2 separate regions of the Homo sapiens genome follow, and region 2 is linked to region 1. The links are contacts of gene promoters, found by promoter capture Hi-C in blood cells and fetal thymus (Javierre and others, 2016). All regions are on one chromosome and are shown on one strand. Each heading gives the region's core, a stretch centred on a gene start or on the middle of the fragment in contact. The rest is flanking DNA. Distances are from core to core; before and after follow the strand shown.

Region 1 (4,057 bases), core at 823-3,322:
CCCTTCGCAGTGCCTGACACATAGTAGGTGCGCAAAAAATATATGTTGAATTAATACTGAAGAGGAGATATGGAGCACAAATAAAATGTTTTGTATTACCATGTTATTTAAAATGCTCTATTTTAGGCCTTAATCAAGACCCACCTTTGGCAAAATTATCAAGGGGTAAAGTTTGTCTTCAGACTTCTAGCACAGCTCTCTCTGCCCTCTCGTTAATGGAGAGAAAACAACTCTAAAGAAAGAAACTCTTTAAATGATTTGCACTAATATGTAAATGAATGATAATATTTGACACTTTCCTGTATTCCTCCCCAACCAGTGGTGTTTGTTCTCTCTTAAGGGCTGGGGAGAAGTTTATGCCAAAATAATTAATCTCTAATAATATAATGTCTATTTCAAGCATCAGTTGCAGGTAGGCAAAGGAGGATGGACTACTTTTTGAGCAAAAAAATGAAGAAACTTTTGGTGCCCCTCAGATCAAAGTGATTAACTGTCCATTCTAGGTGTAAGGCTGGCATTTTTGTGTTATAATCCAGGTAACTCCTAAGCACAATGCCCACCCCAAATTCTAAAAAGTTAGATTTTTTATACCATTTCTAAAATTCATACAACACGGGTCCCTCCTCAGGCCACATGCCACAAAGTGTCCCTTGGCATTCACTCTCAGTTTTTGTTGCTCTTTTCCCTTTGTTAACTGCAAGATAAACATTTCCCAAGCTGAAGGTCTGCCCTTACATTTTTTCTGGTACCGATGTGATGCATTTGGTGATATTTCTAACTCTGTTAGGACTCCCTGGACAACCAGAAAGTTTTATGTTGCTGTAGGATTTAGTCTTGATCCCCCAACTCAAGATTTTACAGAAGGAAACTTATTCTTTAAAAAAGAAAAAAGAAAAAAAGAAGGGAAGGAAGGAAGGAAGGGAGGAAGAGAGAAGGAAGGAAAAGAGGAAGGGGGAGGAAGGGAGAGGGAAGGAGGGAAGAAGAGAAAGAAGGAAGGAAAGAAGGGGAGGGAGGAATGAAGGGAGAGAAGAAGGAAGGAAGGAAGGAAGGAAGGAAGGAAGGAAGGAAGGAAGGAAGGAAGGAAGGAAGGAAGGGAGGGAGGGAGGGAAAGAAAGGGGCAAGATAGGGGGAGGATGCCCTAAACCTCCACCTGCTGATTTTGGTTTAAGGAAAAAAATTAGCTCACTAAAGTCTTTCCTGGGGTTAATGGGAAATGTGGATATAACTAAAACAAAGTTTGAAGGTATGAAATTTTGGAAATAGAATACTACTGGCCCACAGTTGTTCTGGGGCCATTGCCTAGGTTACTCAGGTGTGAACACCTGCATGGGATCAGACTTCCATGGAAAGCGGCTAGAGCATAGGGATGCATAATTTCATTTCAGGTAGTTTTTACAATCTGATGGGAAGCCTGGCTTCACACAGAAAACCACCGTTCGTTAAACATGTACAAAGAAAGACTATGACAAATAGCTCTGAGGGAAATGGCTCCTCATACCAGCTTGTCAAGCCGAGGACTTCTATGAAAGATTGATTTGTCTTTCTAATTACAGCCTGAATCAAGTTAACAGCTTGTATAAGACAACATCAGGAAGCAATAAAAAAAGAATCATGAGAGAAACTAAACGAAAGCTTGGATGAGAGCCTTTGAGCTCAAATCTTGACTTAAAGTATCTCGAAGGCTCTCTTTAACCCTTCTTTCCTTCTTTCCTTCATTCTTTAAATTTTTTTTTTTACTACATATTGCAGTAAAACTAATGTATCTCAATCAGCGTCTCAGCTCCCAGGTGGGCTGTGTCTTTTTTCCCCCCATTACAATCTTTCTTATAAACAAGAGCTGTCAACTACTCACCAAGTAATTCACCGCTCAAATGTCTTCAGTTTACTGCCTGCGCATGCAGACCACTGGCATAGCTACCTCAGTGTGTCCATTTCTTTGCATCCTCTATGCATTCACAATCCTGTCAAGGACTCCAGTCTGTTGACAAATTCCATTAATGGGGTAAATAATTGAAAGCGTTAGTAAATGTTTTGAAAATCACTCTTCAGCATCCGCAGACCAAGACTTGGATTAGGATTTAGAGTGACACTTCTAATCCTTTAAATTGATCCCACCTGTAGCAGAGTTAGTGCTGACCTAAATGCAATGACCCAGAGATTAACAAACAAATAGAGTCCTCTGGATAAATACGTCCTCCACAGACTACTGCCTTCTTTTACCTTTCAAAGTCAGACACAAACTCTCAGATTTTGCCTCTGTGTTCTTCCTTGTTCCATTCTGTCTAATAACCACCAATCGCCCTTTCTCCAGGACAGTTCTAAATGCCAAAACATTCATCAGCTGTGATTCCAGCCCAGAATATAAAAGGTGATCCAGGCTGGCTCCCTGCAAAATTCAAAGCAGGTGAATTTTGTCTCCTTCTCCTATTCCCCTTAAGTGCCTTCACTGCCTTTCCTCCCAAGAGAGACTCCCTACTTCCCTCTACACCTTTGTACAGAGACATTGTTTCCCCATACTTTAGATGTATTCCTTTTCCTTAAGAAGTCCCTCTCTGTCCTGGGCATCATTCACTCAGGGCCCTGTTCTGGATTCCCAACGTGAGAACTGAGGTGTTAAGGGCTAAAAATGACTTATATTAAATGAGAAATGTTTTTTAATAATAGTTTTATTGAGATATAATTTATCTACCACAAAAGTATATAATTTAGGGTTTTTTTAAAGTATATTCACAAGCTTGTGCAACATTTTCATTATTCCCACAAAGAAATTCCATTCTTGTTTAAAAGTCACTCCCCATTTCTCTCCTCCTCCTAGCCCCAGGCCACCACTAATTTACTTTCTCTATGGATTTTCCTATTCTGAACATTTCATATAAATGGAATCATACAACATGTGATCTTTTGCGAGTGGCTTCTTTGTTTGAATGAAAGAAGGACATGGATGAAATTGGAAATCATCATTCTCAGTAAACTATCGCAAGAACAAAAAACCAAACACACTTTGTTTGAAAAACAAACCGTTTTCAAGGTTCATGCACGTTCTAGCCTGTACCAGTACTTCATTTCTTTTGTGGCCAAATAATATTCCACTTTTTTGGGTATACCACATGATCAGTTGATGGAAATTTAGGTTGTTTCCACCTTGGGCTATTATGAATACTGCTTTTATTACTTTTGTGTAAAAGTTTTTATATGGACATATTGTTTTTATTTCTCTTTGGCATATACCCAGGGAATTGCTGGGTCATATAATAACTCTATGTTTAACATTTTTTGAATTGGCAAACTGTTTTCCAAAGTATATGCACCATTTGGCATTCCCACCAGCAACATATGAGGGTTCTTTTTTGCCTACATTCTTACCAACACTTGTTACTATCTATCAGTTTTTTATTTAAGTATGACAGGCATTTTATATGTACATTATACTTATATGTACATCTTTATGTTCACAACAACCATGAAGGTGGATATTACCCATTCTTTCCATTTTGTAAATGAGGATGCCAAGACTGAGATAAATTAGGCAATAATCATACTTACTGAGTGCCAATGATGTGACAGGCATTTTTGGAAGCCCTGTCTCCTTAGATCTTCACAGTGACCCCACGAGATAGATACTATTTGAATTCCCAGACATCCAGAGAGGTTACAGTAACTTACCAAAAATCACACAGCCACTGGTCAGTAGAGACAGAATTTGAACTCAGACACTCTAATTCTAGTAAGTAATAGAGCCAGAAAATTTAAACGCAAGACTATTTGGCTCCAAGAAAGCTCACGTTTATCCTTGATATATTCCACTAATGCACCCTTGTGCTATCCCTCCAAAGACTGCTTGCACTCTAATAGAGTCTCCAGAAACACACCGTGACTACCCAAAGGAAACAATCCCTAATTGTAGAATTTCAGGTGACCTGATGGAAATACTGGTGCAAGTGAGGGCCCCAGTTAGCATTCTCTATGTAGTGCTGCATGGTGCCATGAGCAACCCCAGTATGGATTTTATGAGAAGGTTCTGATGAGGACTAGGATGTTCAAGGGACCATCATTCAAG
Region 2 (4,258 bases), core at 1,521-4,020, 350 kb after region 1:
GTGGCTAAAAACACAGGTTGCTTCACTCCACCCCCAGAGCTTTCATTCATGTGGTATGTGGTGGGGCCCAGGAATGTGCATTTCTAATGATTCACAGGTGGTGCTGCTGCTGCTGCTGGTCCTGTGACCATAGTGTGACCCATTGTGTAGAGGTTAGGAACACAAACTCTGTAGTCACTCTGCCTGGGTTAGAATCCTTTCTCTGGTACTAATCAGCTTCACAGTCTTAAGCTAGTTACTTGCCCTCTTGGGCTTCAGTTTCCCCATTGATAAAAGTGGAGGTAGTAATGGAACCTCTCTCCTAAGATTGTTGTGAGGCAATGAAACCGTGCCTAGACCATAGTAAGCTGCATGTTTATTATTATTACCCTCATGCTCAGGAGACTTGATCTGCTATTTTCCTTCTTTAGACTTAGAGCAAGCTGTAAACATTCAGGGCAGATGCACTCCTACAAGCATTCCTGTAATGCCTGACTACTGGGCAGAGGTTGCAGCTGCCCTGCATTCCCCTAGAGGCTGACTTGCCCTCTGGAGAAGTTTGGATGAGTCAACATTCAGTATCCTCTCTATCCTACCCTGCAGGCTCTTAGAGAGCTTCCAGAAGGTTTTCCAGGAGAATGCACATCAGTGTATACACAAAGCAGCCCAAAGTATTTGAATAACACATGGCCCTCTAAACACCATAGATAAAGCTTAGTTGTTGGAGAAGAAAGAGCTTAGTTGAAATAGACACATGTGGACTTTTTAGTTGAAATAGACACATGTCTGAGGAGAGATGAGTTTGTAGCAGGATGCAAACATACAGTATTATACACTCACACATTCAGCTTGTTTTATTATAATTACTACTTTTTTTAGAGACAGGGTCTTGCTATGTTGCCCAGGCCAGAGTTTAGTGGCTATTCCCAGGCACGATCATGGAGCACTACAGCCTTGAACTCCTGGTCTCAAGTAATCCTCCTGCCTCAGCCTTCTGAGTAACTGAGACTACAGGCACGTGCCACCATGCTCATCTTCAGCTTGTTGTTGTTGTTGTTGTTGTTGTTGTTGTTTGTTTGTTTCTTTTGATAAAGTCTCGCTCCGTCACCTGGCTGGAGTGTAGTGGCACTATCTCAGCTCACTGCAAACTCCAACTCCCTGGTTCAAGCAATTCTCCTGCCTCAGTGTCCCAAGTAGCTGGGATTACAGGCATGCGCCACCACGCCCAGCTAATTTTTGTATTTTTACTAGAGACGGGTTTTCACCATGTTGGCCAGGATGGTCTGTATCTCCTGACCTCATGATCCACCCACCTTGGCCTCCCAAAGTGCTAGGATTACAGGCGTGAGCTTCAGCTTGTTTTGTATTTTTTCTTTTCTGCATTTAGGAAGGTCATTTGGCTCATCTCCAGTAAAGGGCAACCTTCTGCGGATAAAAGGAATATCTCTTCTTCCCTCCAGGAAGCAGAGATAGGCAATTGAGTTTTGCCAATGCCAGGCAGCTTCCCTGACCTCCAGGTAAGAGAAACTTGTTTTCTGTTCCTACTGATTTAGGCTCCAGTTTTTTTGTTTTTTGTTTTTTTTGTTTTTTGTTTTGTTTTGTTTTGTTTTTTGAGGAGAGGGGAAGGAGCAGGAAAGGGAAGGGGAGAGACAAAGGGCTCCAGCTTTAATAAGCCATTAAGGCTCTTCCTGGTGAGCCCTAAGGGCTATTGCTAGTACTAGTGAAAGAGAGAAGTGGGCCAATGGGGACAGTGGCAAACCAGAGAGTACAAGGCTGGTTTAAAGGGGGCAAGCACCACTCAGAGGCAATGGATATTTGCCAACTGAGATTTGAGCCCCTGTTGTTAGACCTTAAAATCTAAAAAAGAAAAGAAAAGAGGCCAGGCATGGTGGCTCACGCCTGTAATCCCAGCACTTTGGGAGGCCAAAGTGGGTGTATCACGAGATCAGGAGATCAGGACCATCCTGGCTAACACGGTGAAACCCCGTCTCTACTAAAAATACAAAAAATTAGCCAGGTGTGGTGGCTGTCAGGCCTCTGAGCCCAAGCCAAGCCATCGCATCCCCTGTGACTTGCATGTATACATCCAGATGGCCTGAAGTAACTGAAGATCCACAAAAGAAGTAAAAAGAGCCTTAACTGATGACATTCCACCATTGTGATTTGTTTCTTCCCCACCCTAACTGATCAATGTACTTTGTAATCTCCCCCACCCTTAAGAAGGTACTTTGTAATCTCCCCCACCCTTAAGAAGGTTCTTTGTAATTCTCCCCACCCTTGAGAATGTACTTTGTGAGATCCACCCCTGCCCGCAAAACATTGCTCTTACCTTCACCGCCTATCCCAAAACCTATAAGAACTAATGATAATCCACCACCCTTTGCTGACTCTCTTTTCGGACTCAGCCCGCCTGCACCCAGGTGAAATAAACAGCCATGTTGCTCACACAAAGCCTGTTTGGTGGTCTCTTCACACCGACGCGCATGAAAGTGGCACGTGCCTGTAGTCCCAGCCACTCAGGAGGCTGAGGCAGGAGAATCGCTTGAAGCCAGGAGACGGAGGTTGCAGTGAGCCAAGATTTCGCCAGCACACTCCAGCCGACTGTCTCAAAAAAAAAAAAAAAAAAAAAAAAAGGAAAAAGAAAGAAGTCAAAATCCCAGCTTTTTTTTTAATAGGAAACCTCCTGATCTTTAAATGTTGTCAACCAACTGAAATTTTAAAAAAAACCATGTCAGTCAAACAAAATTTCCTCAGCACCTATTTGCTGCTGGTGTATGATTTCTGGATTGTTATGAGGGAAAAGAAGACACTAGGGCTTTTAGTGCCGATGGTAAATGAGGTTAGCAGCAGGCAGACAGGCAGGACAGACTAGGAGGTGGGGAAAAGCTGGGAGCCAGAGCCCCAAATGTGGTCCTTGAGTGGGAGTCATCCCTGCTCAGGAGGGGCTTGGTGAGTGGGAGTGGGCTCCAAAAGAGGCACGCTGAGAGAAGCAGCATTTGTAGTCATGAGCCGTGTTGGATCAGAATCCTTGCTGGCTAGCCACCCAGTCTTCAGTGGGTGAGAGTAACAACAACAACTAACATTTATTGGACACTTACATAGTGCCAGGTATTCTTCTGAAAGTTTTACATATATTACTTAATTTAATCATCACAATATCCCTGGGCGGGGGTGGGGGGGCAGGGGTTGATATTACCCTTATCTCCATGTAACTTCATCTCACTGGCACCCTATGCTTACCCCAGTTGACTTTACCAAGCAGGAGCTCTGACAAAGCATGCCACAAGCCAACTCACCACTGTGGGCAGAATGCACAGTTGGTGGCTAACATGAATTTCATGCAGCAACCCCACCCTGACACTAGGAAACCTGGGACTCCTGGCAGTGTTTCATAGAGGAGCTCCTGAACCTCTTCTTTGGAGCAAGGAACTGAGCATGTTAATATGCCAGAGTTGGGGCAGTGGAAGCAGCTATACTATTACAATTCGATCACCTGTCACCTTAGGAACCAATAGCCAGAACCCTGGGTGAGTGACCTACAGGACAGGTCAATTCGATGGGAGGGAGGGCAAGGGCTATCTATGCCCTGGAAAGCTACTTCATAAAAGACATATCAGAAAGGGATTTGGGGGGCTGGAGAAGAGCATGAAGATACTGGAGACACAGAGCATAGAGGAGTGGAAAGGTAGACAAGGAGGAAGCAAAGACAAAGTTGGCCTGCATATAACTTTTCTGAGGGTCAATCTTGTATAGAGGTTATTAGCCTGGCTGGGAAAGAACCACAGAAGGAAGTGGGGTTAGGAAATTCAATCAGTCCAAATGTTGGACTAGGGCCCCTGGTCTCTTTGAACATTTTTTTCCATTTCCTTGCATAACCATAGCCACAGAAGCAGAGGAGGAGATTGTGAATCTGGCCTAAGGTCTTGGTTTATCATTATCTAAATATATATTTAACAAAAACCAAACAGGGCTTTTTAAAGCTCTGAGTCATGTTGTTTCTGCTATTTTTTTTTTTTTAGGGAAATGAGCTTGTTGCTTCATCAAATGATGGGTTATTTATTGATGGAAAAAACTAACCAGGAGGACCGTTTCCCCATACTGTTTAGTAACTTTACACATACTCGGAAGTCTTATTTACATATCAGCTGAGGACTAGCAGTTACTAAATAACAGGAAATTCCGAAAATGTTTTAGTAACTGTAAGGTATCAAGGCTTTTCAGGTAGAGATGGCTTCATGTCCAATTTGTAATAGTAAAGCTGAAGTTGATGGAGTTTCCT

What was found. Contacts are between HindIII fragments. The CHiCAGO score rates a contact against its expected background, and 5 or more counts as called.
Region 2: a fragment that was not itself captured here is called in contact with the fragment with the promoter of GUCY2F in region 1 in 1 of 17 cell types (neutrophils); the score reaches 6.4 in neutrophils.

Annotation. Positions count from the first base shown.
Region 1 is chrX:109,480,014-109,484,070 of GRCh38, forward strand. It overlaps GUCY2F (guanylate cyclase 2F, retinal), which reads right to left and starts at 2,073. Exons shown (of 20, transcript NM_001522.3): 1 at 1,853-2,073. The HindIII fragment of the contact is 1,102 bases long and covers 1,631-2,732 here.
Region 2 is chrX:109,827,037-109,831,294 of GRCh38, forward strand. No RefSeq gene overlaps it. Among named protein-coding and RNA genes, the nearest start is that of ACSL4, 96 kb to the left of the region's middle. The HindIII fragment of the contact is 4,161 bases long and covers 691-4,258 here.